Regions from separate parts of the Homo sapiens genome. Here region 1 is linked to region 2. Evidence: promoter capture Hi-C in human tissues and cell types (Jung and others, 2019). All regions are on one chromosome and are shown on one strand. The core of a region is centred on a gene start or on the middle of the fragment in contact, and the rest is flanking DNA. Distances in the headings are between cores, read along the strand shown.

Region 1 (5,266 bases), core at 2,149-4,648, 560 kb after region 2:
TTAACTTACCAAATATTTACCAACACCTTCTTGGTGCAATATATTTTATCTATAGCTAAATGTGAAAAGTCACGTACTTCTCTACTGCCAAATTCGTAGAGTGGGTGGAGTAGGGTGTTTGTTGAGCTGGTTGGGTGGGTTGGTGGGTGGCTGGTTGGTTGGTTGTTGGTTTTTGAAGACTGTACAGTGCATTGGGAAAAGGGTTGATCCAGAATCTGGAGACTTGGACTTTGGTCTTAACATTGTCATTTGTTAGCCGTATGACATTGGACAAGAAACTATTTCTCTGGCCTTAGTTTCCTCAACTCTAAAAGGAAGAGCTTGACTGGAATAACCCAATGAGGGTATCATGGAATTCTGTCATTCTCTAATTCTATAATGTCATTTTTAGCCCCCATGAAGTGATTAAATAACAATAGAGGAAAGGAAAGTTGAAAAAATTGCTTTTTTTTACGTGAATGAGCTGCTTCATGATTAATGCTTTGTTGGGTTTCAAAAGATATCAAGTACCAGTGAATTAAATACTCTTTCCTTTGTTACAAATACCTTGCAGCCATAAATGGATACATGTATGGAAATCTGCCTGGATTGGACACGTGCTTAGGAGACAACGTTTTGTGGCACGTTTTTAGTGTAGGATCAGTGGAAGATTTACACGGGATATATTTTTCAGGAAATACCTTCACTTCTTTAGGAGCAAGAAGGGACACAATACCTATGTTTCCTTATACTTCTCAGACGCTTTTGATGACACCTGATTCTATAGGTGAGCAGTGGGTCTTCTCATTCAGCCTGAAACATTAAAGTATGCAGAAGCACTATCTTTATACGCACTGAATATTCTGTACAGGAAAAAAAAATTGAACTGATACAAACAATGCTTGAGAAATCTTTGCCCTGCTCCACTTCATTTATAAGAGCCTTAGTATTTCATTTTCCTATACACATAAATCACCTCAGTTTTTTCAGGTCCTCTTCCTAGTCCTTCAGGCTTTAAACCATCCCAATGCTCTTCAAAAATGATGAAGATGTTTTAAACCCTTTAAACTCATTTTCATTCTGTTGTCTTCTGCATTTCTTACTCTTCTGTCCATTTGTTTCCCAGGCCTTCCTGCTGCTTCGACCTTACCCTACTGCCTTGTGACTTCCTCTTTCTATCCTCCTTACTAGCTTTGCTCTCTGGATAAATGTTTTAGCTTCAGTGAGGTTGATCCTTGCTGGCAACATTTTTTTTTTTTAAAGAAGGCACCCCATATCAAAGAACTGTGTGGGGATCAAAGGAAACCAGCCTTCCTTCTGAACCTCGTTTCCTCATTTGTAAAATAGGAATTGTAAAAACTTGTAATTTGCAAAAAGGAATAGACAGTGATCAATGAGATAGGTAAAGTATAGTAAACTGCCTGGCATATGTTAGACTTTCAATAAATGCTAGTTCCTTCTTTAATCCAGTAGATCCACCCTTGTCCCATATACCTGCCCCCCCGCCCCAAAATACATCTATCTTGGTCAAAAATGACTGATATCAACCAAAATCTGGCTATATGATAAACAAACTACTCTGTAAATACTATGAATTGGTATCTTGACTCTTTGTGATGCCAAATATTCATTTGACTACATTTTCTTCATTTCAAAATTTAAAATTTTACTTTTCAAACAAACAAAAGTTGTGATTCAGAGTAATTGGAGGGGAAAAGAAAGCGATCTTTGGCCCAGCGCGGTGGCTCACACCTGTAATCCCAGCACTTTGGGAGGCTGAGACGGGCGGATCATGAAGTCAGGAGATTGAGACCATCCTGGCTAACATGGTGAAACCTTGTGTCTACTAAAAATACAAAAAAATTAGCTGGGCATGGTGGCAGGCGCCTGTAGTCCCAGCTAGTCGGGAGGCTGAGGCTGGAGAATGGCATGAACTCAGGAGGCGGAGCTTGCAGTGAGCCGAGATCGTGCCACTGCACTCCAGCCTGGGCGACAGAGCAAGACTCGGTCTCACACACAAAAAAAAAAAAAAAAAAAAAAAAAGAGAGAGAGATCTTTCTCTGGTGCTTTTTTTTTTCCTCCTCTTTTTTAGAGGATGTACCTGCATGCTCATTCAGGGACAAGTTATTTCTTTTTCCTGCCCCAGTCCTTCCTCTCCTTTCCCCTGCAGGTGTTTTTCTGGATTTAAAAACTACCTTGTCTCATTCTCTTTTCCAAAGCATATCAACTGTAGCAAACAAGTGGAGACAGGTACACTATGTGTTAAACACGGTGCTAGAGCTTATACAGGGATTATGTCATTTTCAACAAATTCTTTTTCTCAAACCCTCTGAGTCTGAAGGTTTTGCTTCCTTGTACATCTTCCTAAACCTTACCCTCCACAAAAGTCACAGCAACAACAGAAATACGTAGAGTTGAAAGAGAGCTTTCGTCAAGAAGCAGTGTCAGCACGTGGTGGGCCTAAAATTACCAAGGTAAAAGAAAGAAAACTGGAATTCAGGTGGAATGTTCTGGTCAGAATCAGGCTAGAGTTTTTTTGTTATGGTGGTTTGTTTTTGTTTTTGTCATTGTTTTGGATTTTTAATGTATTTTTAATGTATTGAACTTTTTTTCACTCCCTCCTCTGCTACCTACCACTCTGATCAAAGCCATCATCTCTCATCGATTATTTTTAATAGCCTCTCAACAGATCCCGTTTCTTTCACCATTGTACACGCCAGCCTATTCTCAGCACAGCTGCTAGAGTGTCCTTATACCCTTCATTGACTTAAAATCCCACAGTGGCTCTCCATTTCACTTAGTGAATGCTATCATGTATTCAGTGGCCCACAAGGGCTCCATCACCTAGCCCTCTGCTCCCTAGTACTTTCACCCTTGCTCCCTCCCTCCAGACACACAGGCCTCTTGGGTGCTCTTCACACACACCAAACAGGCTCCTGGCCTGGGGCCTTTGCCACCTGTTTATTCTGCCTAGAGAGAACACACTTTTCCTCCAGACCCATATCATCTCTTATAAATTTTTGCCCAGGTATCACCCTCTCATCGAGGCCTACCCTGCTTACCCTATGATATTGCTCACTGCTCTCTTGAGCCCTTCCCAACACACACCCAGAATCCTCAGTCCTCCTTACACTGTTTTACTTTTTTTCTTTAATCATAGCTCTTATCACCTTCCAGCATACATACAAGTTGCTTAACATGTTTATTGTTTGTCTCCACAACACCTTGCAATATGAACTCTGAGAGCAAGAATTTTTAACTATTTTGTTCTCTGATGTTTCCCGAATGCCTAGAAATATGTCTGACACAAAGAAGGTCATCAATAAATATTTGTTGAATTAATGAAAGAATGAACAAATGATTTTACTATATTTCTTTTGAGGGTTGCAGCTTATTAATAATTTTACAGAGGAAAGAAATCTGAAGGCAAGGCTTTAACCATTCCTTTCTTATTCGTCTGTAGGAACTTTTGATTTGGTTTGCATGACAATAAAGCACAATCTAGGAGGCATGAAACATAAATATCACGTGAGGCAATGTGGGAAGCCAAACCCTGATCAAACACAATACCAGGAGGAGAAAATAATTATTACCATTGCAGCCGAGGAAATGGAATGGGATTATTCTCCTAGTAGAAAGTGGGAGAATGAACTCCACCACTTACGAAGAGAGAAGTACCATGATAGCTCCAGTCTCTAAATGGGAAGGGTTCTAAGGGTTCTTTCTGAGTCTTCCTCTCTTTCCTTTCAGTCTCTCTGTGTGTGTCTGTGTCTGTGTGTGTGTTGTATTTATTTGTGTTTGGTATGGTGGGTGTGTGTGGTATATTTATTTGTGTTTGTTATGGTGTACGTGTGCATAATGGATATGTGGATGTGGTATTTGTGTGTTTAGGATATTCTCCATTATAAATCACTTCAAAATTTGTGTGTGTGTGTGTGTGTGACATATTCAATTGCAAAGGGCTTCAAATCTTTCTAAATATCTATATAACTTACTTATGGGCTTTATTTCTTCCTGCCTGAGTTTTCACTTCTTGCATCCTTCCTGGACATATGTTACTGTCTGATCTCACCACAGGAATAGTGACATAACTTCAGCTACATTCAGTATCTACAGTCAGGTGTTTCTTTTGTCTTCATTTTCTTCTACCTCTATTCTTCTGAGAACTTCAAATTAAAGACACCTGTTTTTCTCTTTTTGTACAATTTGATTTCTCTCTCTGGTTTTCTCTCTTACTGTATATTTATTTATAAAAACTAAATTTTATCCTGAAAATAAGCTTTGAAATGTAGAATGAATATCTACCTATCTTGCTAGAATTAATATATATTTTTAAAAAGATGACTTACATTTTTAGGTAAAACAGCTTCTAGATATAAGAAGTTCTTCCATATGAGTTCTTTGTCTAAATTAATGGTTAAATTAACTAACTTTGTGGGGTTTTTTTGTTTTTGTTTTTATTTTCTTAAAGCCAAACGAGCATGTATGTGGACAGAAGTGGAACACTTCTTGGGTCCAAATACAAGAAAGTCTTATATCGTCAATATGATGATAACACGTTCACAAATCAAACAAAAAGGAATGAAGGTGAAAAACATCTCGATATACTAGGTATTGGTATGCCATAAGATTGGTTTTCGAGTTTTTCTTGTCCTCAGCCATTAGAGATTGTTGTACACATGGAGGCCATTGTCAACCTCTACTTCAACAGAGGAAAGTACCTGTAATTCTGGTTTGTTTGCTGATAGGCATTTTCATTGGGGGAAAAAATGATTCAAGTGTTGTTTCCTAAAAAATAAGGAGAATGTAGAAAAGTAATGTGCTCAGTTTCAGATTACCTGGATTCTTGCTCTCAGAATTAAAAAATTCTAGAAAGGAGTTTAGAAGTAGCGTGCAGGGATCATTTCAATACAATTAAAACAAAGCCCAGGGGACCCTAGTATAGTGAGGAAAGGAACTTCTTTATGTAAATTTAAGTGTCTTCTGTCTGAGTGAGGAAAAGTACAACTCTTTCTTCCACCCTTGATAGATCAAGTAGGAAACCTCTGAGTCATCCCAGGTGCCCACATGCGACATTTCCACACGCCCAACTCCTGTTTCAGTCTTAATATCTATGTGTATATTAGAGGTTATTTTATGATGTGGGATCCTGAGGAGATGGATTTACATGCTGATGAAGAGGAATTTTTGCTCTTTTTTGCTCTCCGTCAGCCTCTAGAGCTTGTCTCTTTGTGAGCCCTGGAGGGAAGCCTGTGCTATCCTGTTGCTGCTGCTTTTGAGTGGGCCC
Region 2 (5,157 bases), core at 1,302-3,801:
ATATAAACTTTGACAATACCAATCATATGCTGTGTTGTTCCCAAATCAACTTTTGTGTAATGTAAAAGATTCATAAAAGTTTAATATTTTACTTTTATATATGCTCAATAAATATCTATAGAATACATACATTTTTGAACAATGACTCACCAGTATGCTTTATTAAAAGGAATTCGCTTCTAATTTTGTTTCCTCTTTTGGGAAAAGTAACAATGCTTACCAACTTTCTTCCCCTTTTTATGTCATGTGAAACTATCATATGCAATGCCATATGGTAAACATGACAAATGGTGCAAAACACTGTTTTGACTGAAACTCATTTGCCTCCTGCTAAACATCAATTCCCAGATTTAAAAATATTGTTATTTAAATGCCAACCATTTCTAGGTCACACCTACATGAAGTAAGCAAAACATACCATGATAGTTGACCAAACTATTTCATTTCATACATCTCTTATGGCAAGAACTATAAGGCATAAAATGCCTTCCTAGCCAACTTAACTCAAAGACATAAATCTATCCCTTTAGTCATACCCTCAGGCCTACCCTCACTTAGCTAAAGTTAGTGCCTGTAAAAGTTCTGATAAATCTACGTTATTCTGGAATGCAGAAAAATATCAAGGGAAGAAAGCTGAATGCTAGCAACAATTTATGCCCCTCCAAAATTATTGAGAAAATTAGCTTTATACAAGCATAGATGAGAACTTATCCCAAACCCTTCAGTATTATACCTCTCAAACCAAGATTCTGTCTATGATTTGCATTACACATAGAGACAAGATGTCAAGCTGCCTAGCTTCAAACAAAGGCAGAGGTTAAAAAAAAAAAAACTAATAAAACAGTTCTCATTCCCTACATAGAGAAAAATAACTGTGCCTCTCTCCAACAGTTTCCAACAAAACAAAAAAAAATTATGTAATAGACAAATTTTGTTTCATTTAATCCTCATAACAACTCATTTCTTATTTACGGAAAATGTCACAGAATTAGTAAATGGCAGAGCTGAACCCAGCTTGACTCCCAAATTTGGAATTTAGTATTTTGAAACATTTGTTTTTGCCATAATCCATAATACACTTTACATTTCCATCTTCCTCTTGACACACACATACTGTTAAAAACTGAAACAAAAGCTTCTTGCCATAATATTTACTTTTATTCCATACAATGTCCTCTGGTATTTTTTCTTTCTTTATAAAGCTTATGTCAATGTACTAAATTGATTCTAAAATCTATTAATGAATCCTTATGGGCCCTGCACTACAGCACTGCACTACACTTCCTGCACTACAGCACTGCACTACACTTCTTACCTCCTGTTTAAAGTTCTTTTTAATTGCTATCACTGTCCAGTTTTGTTACTTCGAGATGGAGCTAATGTCCACCCATTAAAAAACTGTGCTTAAATAGCATAAACTCTTGAAAGCCCTACCTTAAATCTTGAATTGATCTGTTTCTCCAGAAGAACTCTTTGGAGGCACAGCCACCTTACTTATTTATATTGTATCAAAAACTGCAGATGTTCTCCTTGGAGAACAAACACATCATTGTTGAAAGGAATGCATCAGTTTTCACTGTTTCTGCTGCATCACTGACGAACAGTAATAGCCGGGCAGGTTTGGGGCAACAAGAGAGGACCCGAGCAGCTGCCCACGGTGCTGAAACTGATGATGAAACGACAGTTTTGGAAATTTACTATTTACTATTGTCAGATTAGGACAAAATAGAGGAATTTACCAGACACTGGCAGAGAAAACTGAGTGGCCGCCACCAAAGTTGCATGAGTGCTTCCGGGATACTGCTGTTTGGCTTCGATGTCTGCCCACTCTCTCTTTCTCTCTGGGACAAAGTTATTTAATAAGTGCAAGTCAAGTCAAGTCAAGCATACAGGCAGAGCTGCTGACTGACCGTAGTATCTGGCCCTAGCAGGGGTTAAGTCCCAAACCTGCAATCTGAGCTTCCAGGGAAAGAAAAAGGGGGTGGGGGTAAAAGAGAGGAAGTGACTGCCCTCCTTCTATTCAGAGACAAAACAGCCCCCTCAACTAAAGTCAAGCGATGTGCCCGAGGACGTTGCGGCAGGTACTTGACCAAGAAAAGCCTTCCAAACATGTTTTCCAGGCAGGCTCTTGCAGCCTCAAGAAGGGAATGAGAGAAGCAAAACCGGTAACTCAACTTTGGACACACACAAACTCGCGGAATGAGAGTGCAGGGGAGACTCGGTCCCCCGAGGGCAAGGCTATTTTATTCCTTTTGCAAAAAGCCTAATTGACTTCTCACCCAGCTCTAGAGGAGCAGCAAAGACCTCAGCAGCAGGGCCGACTCCGAGCTCGAGGGCCAACAAGCGGGGTATGTTCTCTGGGCCGCTCGATAACGAGCTGCCCGGCTGCCGCGAAGCCGGACAGGGTCTTACCTTGAAGTCCGGCCCCCGCAACACAAACAGTCTTGCCAGCCGCGTCGCTGCGGGAGAAGTCCCTACCCTGATTTCATGACTGAATATCCGCACCGACCCCCACAGCCCGGAGTACTAGCAGGGACGACAACACCTAGGCGAAGCGGAAGTCCCGCCCCACGCGCCTCATTGGTCCGCACCCAAAGGCACAGAAAACCCACTGGGCAACATGGTTGCCTGTTAAGGCTCTTTCCCACTCTCACGCGGAGTCTCGCTACTTGCTCTAGCCCGGCTCGGAGAAATGCCCAGTTTGCGAGTCTCGTTCTTGGCCGCGTGATCCGTCTTCCCTGGAAGGGAAGAGCAGGGTGGGGCAGGCGTCTGCGGAACTGGAGCGCGGCTGAAGAAGCTGCTCTTGGCAGAGGAAGGGGCAGGCTGGCAAAGTGGATTGGCTGTGGGCGCCTGCCGCTAACCATGTGCCCCTAGAAACGGAGACCGTAGGGTCTGGAGGGCGCGGGACCGAGCGGGCAGGGCCGGTCGGTCTGATCTGCTCCGGCTGTTGGGACAGAGTAGCCCAAGATTCGGCTGCCGGGCTGCCCCCGGGCGGGCCTGGCCCTGGCGCTGACGCGTCTCTTCCCTGCACACTACACTCACCCGACCTACTAAAGAGGCGAGGGCGAGGCCTCATCCGCCCGCCTTCCGTACCGTGCCCAGTCTGAGATCAGAGTGGGTGGGGACCGTGGCCACACCTTAAAGTAGGGCTCAAATTGTTAGAGATGCGAGCGGCCCGAGGTCTGAACGCCAGTCCCCTGAGGCCTGGCTCGGATCCACGCTGGCATCAGCACTCTGGGCCTGACACGCGCCATCCCCGGGGCTTAGCAAAAGTCAAACCATGTGATTCAGGCCCTAGGTCAGCCTTTTAAAACCCTTGCCTCCTTTTGATGAACCAAAAATCTCCTCCCCTGCCGCCCTTCTGATAAGCCTTCCTTTCTGGTTGTCTCAATCTTAAACCAGTCGAAACTTAAATTACCGGATTGTACCATCCACATTGATTAATCATTGCCAACTCGCCACCTTACAAAAGCAGTGTGACTTAGGCAAATATTACAGAGTCCTGAAAGAAATGTCAGGAGACATAGAATCAGGCACTACTTCTGCTTCAAATAATAAGGCACCCTTAATAAGGCCTTTACAGGCTTCAACTCCTTCAACATCATCTTTTAAAAATGGTGGCGAGGAGGCTATCACACAGAGTATTAGTAGAATACCATTGGATGTAACTTGTCACTTTGATTGCTTGGAGAGCCCTGAGTAGGTGGGACACAGCAATGGGGAAAAGACTCTTTCCTTATTGTGTATCCTTTTGTGCCTTTTGAATTTTGAACCTTGCAAATATTACCTACTCAAATAAAATTCAAATACAAGAAATTTAAGATCAAATTTTAAAAAATTAAATAAAAGCTATCAAAGGTACTTTCCTCTTCTGTGTATCCTATGAGTATTCTATGTAGTCTTAACTTTTCATTGGTTGCAAAGACATTCAATACTTAAATCACAATTCTGCCTTTAAGAAAGTCATAAATAAAAGTCAGCATTGGGAATATTACTAAGAAGACTAATTAGTATAAACACATTTATAATATCTCTATAAGCATTTTTTTCATTAAATTATCCCAAATTGGTATATTAAATCAGATTTCTTGCATAACATCAAAATAAATTTTTTTAGGCCGGGTGCGGTGGCTCATGCCTGTAATCCCAGCACTTTGGGAGGCCAAGTCAGGCGGATCACTTGAGGTCAGGAGTTCAAGACCACACTGGCCAACATGGTGAAACCTCGTCTCTACTAAAAATACAAAATTAGCCGGGCATTGTGGTGCACACCTGTAATCCCAGCTACTTGGGAAGCTGAGGCAGGAGAATCGCTTGAACATGGGAGGCAGAGGTTACAGTGAGCTGAGATCCCACCACTGCACTCGGGCATAGGCAACAGAGCAAGATTCCATCTCCAAAAAAAAAAAAAAAAATTAAGTCCACAGAGAGGAGCTTTGGGTTTTGTTGTTTTATTTTTATTTATTTTAGAGACAAGGTCTCACTCTGTTGCCCAGGCTGGAGTGCAGTGGTGAGATCATGTCTCACTGCAGTCCAGAACTCCTGGGCTCAAGTAATCCTCCCACCTCAACCTCTGGAGTAGCTAGGATTACAGGCATGTGCCACCAGGCCTGGCTAATTTTTTTATTTTTTTTAGCCTTACAGTCTGGCTATGTTGCCCAGGCAGGTCTCAAACTCCTGGCCTCAAAGGATCTTCTTGCCTCGGTCTCCCAAAGTGCTAGGATTACAGGCATGAGTCACCACGCTCAGACAAAGAGCTTTGCTTATTCCTTAAAGGCACCTTGAGTACAGAATATTTTACTTCTGGTTTCAACCTGCTCTTCAGATAACAATAGGTATAGTTCTCTCAACTATGAACAAGGTAATGTGTCATTTGTACTGCATTTAGGCTACACTCTGCAAAAACATTTACTCTCCCAACCTGTGCTGAAAAAGGTAAATTGGAAAAAAATATATTGGAAAAATGTATTAATCTTTCTAAAGCAGATTAGACAGTAAGATTGACAGATATCATAATTACAATTTTCAAGAACATGAAGGGTTAATAAGGCACGTGATACTAATATACCACTAATTATCTTTTTAAAAATCAAAATGTGCTTTTAGGGTGTTGTATCTAACAGGTTTTTTTTTTAAACCTTCCTAAAAAGTACAAAC

What was found. The method cuts DNA at HindIII sites, captures the fragments that hold promoters and counts their contacts. A contact is called where the count stands out against the background at its distance.
Region 1: a fragment that was not itself captured here is called in contact with the fragment with the promoter of RNF13 in region 2 in 1 of the 25 tissues and cell types used here (hippocampus).

What each region holds. Positions count from the first base shown.
Region 1 is chr3:149,248,346-149,253,611 of GRCh38, reverse strand. It overlaps the pseudogene CPHL1P. Among named protein-coding and RNA genes, the nearest start is that of CP, 29 kb to the right of the region's middle. The HindIII fragment of the contact is 3,740 bases long and covers 1,529-5,266 here.
Region 2 is chr3:149,810,609-149,815,765 of GRCh38, reverse strand. RNF13 (ring finger protein 13) reads right to left here and starts at 2,551. Exons shown (of 10, transcript NM_183381.3): 1 at 2,413-2,551. RefSeq lists enhancers at 2,708-2,817, 2,683-3,194 and a silencer at 3,028-3,177. The HindIII fragment of the contact is 17,546 bases long and covers 1-5,157 here.